Linked DNA regions of Homo sapiens: region 1 is linked to region 2. Evidence: promoter capture Hi-C in 16 types of primary human blood cells and fetal thymus (Javierre and others, 2016). All regions are on one chromosome and are shown on one strand. Each heading gives the region's core, a stretch centred on a gene start or on the middle of the fragment in contact. The rest is flanking DNA. Distances are from core to core; before and after follow the strand shown.

Region 1 (5,875 bases), core at 2,968-5,467, 7.1 Mb before region 2:
AGCTCTCCTACTGAAATTTCTACTCTTGACCCTATTGCTTCATCTAAGATATATCTGACTCTCATCTGGAGGTGTGGGCTTGAAAAATTGCTGTTCATCCTTAGGCAAGAATCACTGTAAGCAATTCAAGTGCTTCGTACAGAGTTTAATAGTGTATTATTCCTGATTTATGTTTTAAAATAGCTTCATTATAGTTATAGATAATCTTTGGACTGTGGCTATATTTCTCAAAGACAGATGTGCCCTAAAGATGGGGTTTCAGTTTTCGGTAAATACGGGCAAACATCTGGTCTTAATTTTTTGGTAATGAACATATATCCTTACTGTAATGTACAAGAATAAGCTTTTTAAAAAGTGAGGAAGTAACCAGTTTCTCATTGTTATTAAATAAGCACCAGAGCTTATTATAAGACAGAGTCGCATAGCAGAAGTGGTTGCTGTGTTCTGATTATCCTTATTTGTATTGACATGTATTAGGTGTACATATTTTTGGACTACATGTGGTAATTCAGTGCATTCATATAATCAAATCAGGCTAATTGGGTTATCCATTACCTTAAATATTTATTGTTTTTTGAGAAAGGGTCTTGCTCTGTTGCCCAGGCTGGAGTGCAATCGCACAATCATGACTCACTGCAGCCTTGACCTCCCAGGTTTATGTGATCCTCCCACCTCAGCCTCCTGGGTAGCTGGGACTATAGGAATGTGCCACCATGCCCAGCTAATTTTTTGTGGAGTTGGGGTTTCCCCTTGTTGCCCAGGCTTAAATATTTGTGCTAGAAACATTTGAATTAATTCTCTTTTAGCTAGTTTGAAATGTATAATCAATTAATGTAAACCGTAGTCACCCTACTGGTCTATCAAACACCAGGGCTTATTTCTTCTAAGTGTATATTTGTATCCATTAATCAACTTTTCTTCATCCCCTCCCCTGCCCCATCCTCCCTACCCTTGTAGGCTTCTGGTGTCTTCCAGCCTACTCTATCTTCATGACATCCTGTTTTTAGCTCCCACATATGATTGAGAACATGTGATATTTGTCTTTCTGTGGTTGGCTTGTTTCGCTTAACATAATGACCTCCATCCTATCCATGTTGCTGTAAATTACAGGATTTCATTCTTTTTAATGGCTGAGTAATACTCCGTAGTGTACATATACCATATTTTCTTTATCCATTCATCCACTGATGGACACTAAGGTTGCTTCCATATTTCAGCTATTTTGAATAGTGCTGCAGTAAACATGGGAGTGCAGATACCCTTTGAGGTACTGATTTCCCCTTAGATATGTACTTTTAGTGGACTTGCTGGATCATATGGTAGCTCTATGTTTAGTCTTTTTGAGGACTCTCCATTCAGATTGCCACAGTGGCTGTATTAATTTATATTTCTACAAGTAGTATACAAGGGTTCCACTTTCTCTATATCCTCACCAGCATCTGTTATTCCCTGTCTTTTATGATATAAGCCATTCTAACTGGGGTGTGATGATACCTCATTGTGGTTTTGATTTCTGTTTGTCTGATGATTAGTGATGTTGAGTATTTTCTCACATACCTGTTGGCCATTAGTTTGTCTTTTGAGAAATTACTGTACAGGTCTTTGGACTATTTTTAAATCTTTTTTTTTGTTATTAAGTTGTCTGAGCTCTTTATATATTTTGGTTATTAATTCCTTGTCAGGTGGATAGTTTGCAAATAGTTTCTCTCATTCTGTGGGTTGTCTCTTCACTTGTTTGTTTCCCTGTGCTGTGCAGAAGCTTTTTAGCTTGATGTAATTCCGTCTGTTTTTGTTTCAGTTGTGCGTGCTTTTGAGATCTTACACAAAAAAATCTTTGCCAAGATCAGTGTCCTGGAGAGTTTCCCCAGTGTTTTCTTTCATTAGTTTTATAGTTTCAGGTCTTAGGTTTAAGTCTTTAATCCATTTTGATTTGATTTCTGTGTACGGTGAGAGAGAAGCATCTAGTTTCATGCTTCTGCATATGGTATCCTGTTTTTTTCTGCACCATTTATTGAAGAGATTGTCCTTTTTCTGTTGTATATTTTTAGCACCTTTCTTGAATATGAGTTAGCCGTAAATGCATACATTTATATGTGGATTCTCTGTTCTGCATAATTGGTCTACTTGTCTCTTTTTATGCCAGTACCATGCTGATTTGATTACAATAGCTTTGTAGTATATTTTGAAGTTAGGTAGTGTGAAGCCTCTCCAGTTATGTTTTTTTTTTTTTTTTTTGCTCAGGATTGCTTTGACTATTCAGGGTCTTTTGTGGCTCCATATAAATTTTAGGATTTCTTTTCTTTCTCTTCCTTCCTTCCTTTCTTTAAATGTTTGCTATAATTCAGCAGTGAAGCCATCAGATTGTGGGCTTTTCTTTGATGTGAAACTTTTTGTCATGGCTTCAGTCTCATTACTTGTTACTGGCTTATTGAGGTTTTTTTGTGGTTCAATCTCAGAAGGTTGGATGTGTCCAGGAATTTATCTATTCTAGGTTTTCCAATTTGTGGTTAAATAGTTGTTCGTAATAGTATCTATCTTTGTATTTCTGTGGTCTGAGTTCTTACGTCTTCTCTTTTGTTTCTGGTTTTTTTTTTTTTAGTCTATTACATTTTTTTTTGATTTTATCTTTTCAAAAACACCAGCTTTTGTTTTATTGGTCTTTTGTATTGTGTTTTTAGTCTCACTCTCATTTTTTTCTGCTCTGCTCTTTATTATTTCTTTCCTTTTACCAATTTTGAGTTTGTGAAGTCTGTCCCGGGGGTAATCCAGTCATTTTTATTTTTCTCCTGTGCACGTCTTCTTTTCTTTCTTTCAAAATAGCTGCTTTTAAGATTTTTTTTCTTTGTCTCTGGTTTTGATAATTAGATTATGACATTCCATTGTATAGTTTTCTTCATGTTGCTTGTGCTTAGGGTTTGTTGAGCTTTTTGAATCCATTGGTTTATAGTTTTTTTCATTAATTTCAGGAAAGTTTTGGCTATTACTATTTCAGATGTTTTTTCGGTCCTCCTCCTTCCCCTGCTTCCTACCTTAGGGATCTCCAATTGCATGTGTTAAAAGAAAAACTTAAGACAAATTAAACTTAACAGAGTTTAAATTAAACTTAACAGAGTTTAAATTAAACTTAACAGAGTTTAATTGAGCAAAGAACGATTTGCAAGGTGGGTAGCTCCAAAATGATAATAGGTTCAGACCAACCTTGGCTCTGCCATGTGGTCAGAGAGGATTTATGGACAGACAAAGGAAAGTGACAGAAAATGAGTAAGGTATGGAAACAGCTGGATTGGTTACAGCTCAGCATTTGCCTTATTTAAACACAGTTTGAACCGAGGACTGCCTGTGATTGGATGAAACTTGGTGATTGATTGGTACTAGAGTAGGTTACTGTAGGTAAACACATCCAGTTAGGTTACAGTTAACTATGTACAGCAAAGCCTTTTAGGACGATCTTAAAATATGTAGGAGGCAGCGTTAGGCTCAACTGAACACATGTATGTTAGGTTGCTTGAAGTTGTCTCACAGCTTACTCATGCTCTGTCGTTTTAAAAAAATTCCCTTTTCTTCCTATTTCATTTCGGATAGTTTCTGTTACTGTGCCTTCAAGTTGACTAACCTTTTTGTTAGCAATATCAAACTTGCCATTAGTTTCATCAGTGTATTTTTAAATCTCAGACATTGTAGTTTTTATGTCTAGAAGTTTGATCTGGGTCTTTAAACATATTTTTCATATTTAATACTTTTTTAATGTAATGGTATACAGTTATAATAACTTTTAATGCCCTGTATTAATTCTAACATCTGTGTCTGTTCTGGGTTGATTGATTGATTATTCTTCTCATTTTAGGTTGTGTTTTTCTGCCTCTTTGTTGCCTGGTTATTGTGGGTTGGATATCAGATGTGATTTTTCTTTTTATCATGTTTAGTGCTGGGTATTTTTGTATTCCTATAAATCTTCTTGAGCTTTATTTTGGGATGCAGTTAAGTTACTTGGAAACAGTTTAGACTTTCTGGGATTTACTTTTCTAATTTGTTAGGTAGATCTACAGAAGGGCTTATCCCAGGGCTATTCTCCACTGTTGAGGCAATATCCTTCTGAATACTCCACCCGGAGCCTGCGAATTATGAGTTTCCCCAGTCTGTTTGATGGGATCAGGCACTGTTCCTAGCCATGTGTGAGTAGTACTGTTCTCATTCTTTAGAAGGTTGTTTCCCTGGCTTTGGGTAGTTTTCTTACATCCATGTGCTGATGGGTATCCTACTAAATATTTCAGAGGTTTCTCTGTGCAGCTCTCTCCTATCTGATGCTCTGTCCTATGAATCTGTCTTGGTTTCTCTAGACTGTCTCAGCTCATCATTTCAATCATGATGTCTTCCTAGCTCACCCTTAGTTCTTCTAACCTGTCCTGGCCTCAAAACTCTCTAGGCAATAAATGAGCAATTTTAGGGCTCACTTACTTTGTTTCTTATCTCTCACAGATCACTCTGTGTTGTTGCCTGATGTTCAGTGAAACTGCTGTTTCATATATTCTGTCTTTTGTCATTATTTTTTCAGATGGGAGGGTAGGTCTGATCTCCGTTATTCTATCTTTGGCAGTAGTGGAAACGTCCCTGCAGAATTTTACTTATGGAGTTTGACAGCCTATTCTAAAGTTCATTTGTAAGAGAAAATTCACAATAGCTGAGTAAATTTTGAAGGAAGGACAACGAAGAGTGGATTGCCGTTCCACATATCAAAACATGATAAAGCTATAGTAATTCAAATAGTTTGCTGTTTGTGCAGGAATAGACGAATAGATAAATATGTGTGTGTGTATATACACAGACAAATATTTATACATATGAATTTATGGCAAAAGTGACATTTCAAATCAGGAAAGGGTAGTATTAAGATAATTGATTATCCATTCGGAAACCAAAAATTGACTCTTCAAACTGTATTCATTAGAGTATGGATTTAGCATCTTGTGACAGAAACCCAAAGTAATGGTGGTTCAAGAAAGGCAGAAGTTCATTTCTCATGGAAATAAATCTGAGTTGTGTAGCTAAACAGGAACTCAGGCTCTTCTTGTTTTTTGCCTTGTCACCCATAAGATATTTTCTTGTCTCTGTAGTCTAAAATGCCTCATATTCTGGTCTGTAGAAAGGCTAGTTAGGTGAAGGGAAGGCATATTTTTCCTCTTGAGGGTACAATGCAGAATTTTCATGTATCTCTTCTGTTCCCAACGTCCAGGTATGTTGGAAAATAGTCTTTATTCAGGACAGTTCTGAATAGCTCAGTGCCTAGCTAAATACCCTATCATTGTAGAAGAAGTGGAGAATAGAAATTTAGGGACAAGTAGCAATCTAACCTTTGCCATATATAGCAAATTTCAAATGGATTAAAGAAAAATATAAAAATGAAAAGCTGTAAGTACTAGAAGTATACATAGGAGAGTCTGTTTATGATCTATAGGTTACAAAAGTTTCCTAAACAAGAGGCAGAAAGCATAAGCTATACAGGAAAATATTGATGACTTTTTACCACATAGTAATTAAAAATGGCTATATGACAAAGTTAAGAGAAATCACAGACCAGAAAAGTAAATATAAAATATGCAAATAAAAAATTGATATTGGTGATATATAAATATAATACATGCGAATGAAAACATTGATATTCATTATATAAATAACTAATATTCATGATATATTTTTTACCAGTAAATTGGTTAAAAACAAATACTTCAGTAGAAAAATGGACAGAACATATGAACAGACAATCCACAGAGAAATCCAAGTAGTTCATTAATGTACAGTCCCTGTCTCATTATTTGTGAAATGCAAATTAAAATGACATCTTTTGTTTGTCTATAATACAAGTAACCATGTTACCCAA
Region 2 (5,214 bases), core at 274-2,773:
AAGAAATTCTTTAAAAAGCAAAACTTATTAAAACTAAAAATACAAATAGCAATTCCTCAGGATCATCAGATATTATTTAATGTGTGTGTGTGTGTGTGTTTGTGGCGTGTGCGTGTTCGTATATTCAAATTAGTGTTCAATTAAGGTCCTAGAAATGGGGCCACTCCTGGTGGCTTCACACCTGTAATCCCGCACTTTGGGAGGCCGAGGTGGGAGGATTGCTGGAGCCCAGGATTTAGACACTAGCCTGGGCAAGATGGCTAGGTGTTAGCCATCTTGCGGAGATGGTATATCTCCACAAAAAATGCAAAAAATGTGTCGGATGTGGTGGAGCATGCCTGTAGTTCCAGCTACCTGGGAGGTTAAGGTGGGAGGATCACTTGAGCCCAAGGTTGCAGTGAGCCATGATCACACCACTGCACTCCAGCCTGTGTCACAGTGAGACCACGTCTCAAAAAAAAAGAGGTACCACATTCTAGACTTCTAGACTACTTGTCTTTCCCTGAATATGCAGTTAGTTTGCCAGTTTGTCTTCATATCACGAAGTTACTTAGTTACCTTTTTCAGATTTTTCTTTCCCTTATAACTCAGTTATAGTTCAAGGAAGCAAAATTAGATTGTTTCCGTTGGACAATGAATCTTAAGCAAGTTTCTCTTGCAGATTTTACCACACTATGTAGTTATGTATCTACTGGTCATTTATTCTGTAGTTTCGATTCCTCGATGGTCTGCTTAAATCAATTTTGTGCCCCAGGGCCTTGATAACATGTTTAAATTAGTTATTAATTACAAAGACCTATTATGATACAATTCTTTCCCCAATTAAAAACAAAACTAGGCCGGGCGTGGTAGCTCACGCCTGTAATCCCAGCACTTCATCCTGGCCAACATGGTGAAATCCCGTCTCTACTAAAAATAAAAAAATTAACTGGGCGTGGTGGCGGGCGCCTGTAGTCCCAGCTACTCAGGAGGCAGAGCCAGGAGAATCGCTTGAACCTGGGAGGCGGAGGTTGCGGTGAGCCGAGATCGCGCTGCTGCACTCCAACCTAGCGACAGAGCGAGACTCCGTCTCAAAACAAACAAAAACTAGCAGGCTTTTGTGACTACAAACAAGCTGGTTGCATGCTGCACTGCCTTTGGGTAAGAGTGGAACTCCAACTAAGAAAGTACATCTGGTAAACATAAGGGATTCACCCAGACTTGTCCTAAATAAGACTCCGATTACCCGAACTGAATCAGGAGTCCTTTAGAGCGACTCTAGCTAAGAAGGCCTGTTAGGCCCTGCACTAAGAGTTTCAGGTGGGAAAATTGCGCCATCCAGTTATAGGCCGTACAGCGGGAACTCCATGAACAACCTGGGTAACCTAATCCCTGAATAAGACTCCTTCCAGGTACCAGTGGGCTGAGGGCGGCAGGGCGACGCGCTGACGTCACGTCACGTTCCTTTGCACGTCCCCGCCTCCCCGCCCCTCTCCGCACTGTGACGTTCCCAGAGAGGAACGAAGCGTAAACAGCGCAGGGCATTTCGGGAGCGGGATTGTTTCGCGCAGGAAGCAGGCTCCATTTTAGCGCCGCCCGCCGTCGCCATCTGTTTCCCTTCCCTCCCCCATACCTAGCCCGAGTCTGAGCCCTAACGAGAAGGCTGGGCCTAGGCCGCTGGATGCTGGAGTGAAAGGAAGGGAGAAAGGGAAAAAGCGGGAAGAGTCGAGAAGGCTGAGTGTTAAGAGGCCAAGTGCGACGCGCGTATCCGGGCAGACGGACTGACGGACGGGCCCGTGCTTCTGCCGCGGCTGCGGCGCCCGCGCGAGTCGCGTCTAAGCGGCGGCGGCGGTGGCAGCGGCGGAAACCGAAGGGGAGCCATGGCGGCTGACAGTCGGGAGGAGAAAGGTTAGTGCGGAGAAAGATGACGGGCCGAGGCGAGGCTGGGGCCCGGGAGTGGGGTGATGGAGCAGTGGTCGTCGTTGGGGGTGGGGGGTGGGGGTTGGGGAGGTTAGCTGGCCTCGCGAGGAGCCGGTGGCCCCCACCGAGACACTTAGACTCTGGCGGAGACCAGGCCTGCCCTTTCGTCCTCAGTCTCCATATGGCCTAGCACTTCATCTCAGTAGGGTTTTTCTTTGATGCGGATTTCACGCTTGACTTTCCGTTTAGCTGTCTTGGGCTGAGAGGGGCCCTTTCTGAGTTGCAAGCTCCTAGGTTTATTTCCTGGTAGGATCATGCGGATGTAACGCGTATTTTCAGGACAACCATTTCTGTTAGGCTAAAATTTGAAAACCCCTAATGCCGCGATCAACACTGGTGGTGTGGTAAGTGAGCAAGTTTAGGAAGTGGCACTGGCAGGTTATTAATCTTGAGAAATATCTGCAAATAACTTCTGGCTGTTCCTGTTAAATAGGCAAAGTGAATTACCCGTTTTGTTCCTCGAATACTTATTTTGGAAAAACATAGTACTTGGAAAAAGGAATACTTAGTTTGGAAAGATGACTGTGTGACTTAGGCTGGCAAAGAAATCCTGGGTGCTATTATGTTAGAAAAACCGTGTGTAGCTCCCAGAGGGTACAGTCAGAAACAAATGAATGCAAGTTACAGAGAGTTGGAGGGATAAATTTCAGTGAAATGTAGAGAGAACTGACGTTGCTGTAATGGAAAGATAGTAATACTAAGTTCCCAAGCCCTAGAGATATTAATGTAGGTCCTAGATCAGTGTCTCTCTGGAGAGTGGTCTAGATTAAATGCTGCTTTAAGATCTTTTTCAACCCTAAGATTAACATAATAGTCTTGGAAAGATTATAGTTAAAAATATGACACGGTCGCTGCTCTGTGTCTCACACATCTCTTCTGTGTGCCTAATTGATTTGGGGTTTTTTTGTCGGGGGTTGTTAAGTGGGCTCTAGAGTCAAGTTACATTAGGCGTGTAATCCTTTTTTCTTAATTTTTCTGGTTTCTGCATCAGGAGAGTCTTCATGCTTCAATGAACTGCCCTAGGTTAGGGACAAGCTGGGAAAGTGGAATGGGTGGGAATACTTTTAAGATACTGCCCTTATCCTAAAGTAGTTCTTTGATTAGGTTATAGCAGTTTAATGTTCCATCCTTAAACTAAATGCTAAAAAATCTCCCTGGGCCTTTTTTTTTTTTTTTTTTGAGAAATCCAGAAGTAATGGGAACATAGGATTGTATGGTGTTAGTGAGTAAAGGAAAATGCTTTTAATTAGTTAACTCAGTTATTAAAATACATGATCTTAATTAGTAAGTATTCAGCAAACATCTGATTGTCTTTCTAATTTATGAACTGTGGATATGGGAGTCTGTAGTGGTTGTGGTGGGCGAAATGAACCAAACACAAAAATGAGTAAAATTCAGTACTTCTCAAGAATTCGTTGTCTAAGATGAAAATATTTACAAGTCGTTAATAGAGTAGACGCAGTAATGCACATTGAAGAAGAAAAGTAGATGATTTTAAAAGTTTTGCTTTAGAAATGATTTAGTGATGATAATGCAGTCCAAATACATAAACTGTGTAGCTATTACTGGGAAGTAGTGATATCACCTGTTGTCTATACATAGGATACATTTCCCCACTTTTGAAAAGGTTCTTTGCCTCACATTTGCTTAGTTTTTTTTATTTAATTTTCATAACTTTATTTAAAAACTTGATGTAAGTGCTTTATCTTTATAGTTTAGAACAAAGATTGTTTCTGGACTACACGGAGAACTAGCACTTACCTACTGGAATTGTTTATTTCGTTTTGGGAGAGTTCTAGGTAACCTACAGGTTGTATCATTTACTTGATGATCATCATCACACACTTAGCTTTATAGTTAGAATCAATACTTAGGTCTTCCTCTCTTAAGGAAAAGTGGGACTCTTAAGCGCTTTATTGTCTTACATGAAACAGGAAATTATAAGGATAAACCCTCTAAAAATCTCAGTCATGTCACAAACGTTAAGTTCTTTCTCAAATGATTCCATAAATGGTTTAAGATCTTGATAGCAAATGAGTCTATAAGTTGCAGAAATTGGCAATTATATTAATCACAGAACAGTAAAGACCCTTGTTCATAGAGTTCTTGATGGGGTTTTGCACTTATCTGGGTAATAAAGACATGAATTTCTATAATCTATAACAATGCTTCAATAATACTCATACCTAGAAGCTGCAGCCCATATAAGTGGACAGATTGCTAGCTCCCTGTGATTCCTGTGGTGATAATTTGCCCAAGAAACTGGATTTGAAAGGTGTTGCAATGTTGGTGTTAACTAATATTAAATGCCATTTTTCTATATAAGGAGGAAATATGCATCTTTTCTATTATTGCAAACACCTTGTATAAATTGTATTAATCTTTTACAAAGTTCTCTACAAAGAACAGTTACAAAAGTTTAATCTATCCAAAATGTGTATGAGTAATGTGTAATGAGTTACTGTGTTAAAAATAACGTGTTTTCTAGATTACCAGACTAGAAGCTCCCTGAGTGCCCGGAGTACATCTGTCTTGTTCACTGGGTTCTTTGTATACAGTAATTGTGTTTCAGTACCTTGAGTATTTACCAGGTTGGACTTCATTGACTGACTGGTTAAATGACATGTGCAGTATGATAACGAAAGCTAAGAGTTTCTCAGTTTAAGTTATACAACAGTTCTCCCCTGACCCCCAACCTCTACCAGCCTTATTTTCCTGGTAAATACGTTCTAAGATCCACAGTGGATACCTGAAACAATGGATATTACTATATCCTATCTATACTATGTTTTTTTCTATATGTATATACCTATGATGAAGTTTAATTTATAAGTCAGGGACTGTAAGAGATCAACCACAACAATAATAAAGTAGAACAGTCATTACAGTATGCCATCATCACTACTCTTGTGCTTTGGGGCTATTATTAAGTAAAATAAGAGTTACTTTGAACACTGACACTGCCATATGTGGACAGTTGATCTACTACCCGAGACAGTTACTAAATGACTAATGGCAGGTAACATATGCAATGCAAATATTTGTTGACCAAAGGGATGATTCATTTTCCAGGCAGGACAGAGTGGGACAGTGCGTAATTTCATCACACTACTTAGCGCACAATTTAAAACTTATGAATTATTTCTGGAATTCTCCATTTTTATATCTTTGGACAGTGATTGACTCAGTTGACTGGGGGTAACAAACCCTCAAAAGCAAAACCTTGGATAAGTGAGGGACTACTGTATATATACA

What was found. The method cuts DNA at HindIII sites, captures the fragments that hold promoters and counts their contacts. A CHiCAGO score of 5 or more calls a contact.
Region 1: a contact is called between a fragment that was not itself captured here and the fragment with the promoter of YTHDC1 in region 2, in 1 of 17 cell types (monocytes). The highest score is 6.0, in monocytes.

The regions. Positions count from the first base shown.
Region 1 is chr4:75,494,842-75,500,716 of GRCh38, reverse strand. All of the region lies in intron 3 of RCHY1 (ring finger and CHY zinc finger domain containing 1), which reads left to right. Among named protein-coding and RNA genes, the nearest start is that of RCHY1, 17 kb to the left of the region's middle. The HindIII fragment of the contact is 4,911 bases long and covers 1,762-5,875 here.
Region 2 is chr4:68,346,399-68,351,612 of GRCh38, reverse strand. YTHDC1 (YTH N6-methyladenosine RNA binding protein C1) reads left to right here and starts at 1,523. Exons shown (of 17, transcript NM_001031732.4): 1 at 1,523-1,887. The coding sequence starts at 1,860. RefSeq lists an enhancer at 1,575-2,154. The HindIII fragment of the contact is 7,711 bases long and covers 1-5,214 here.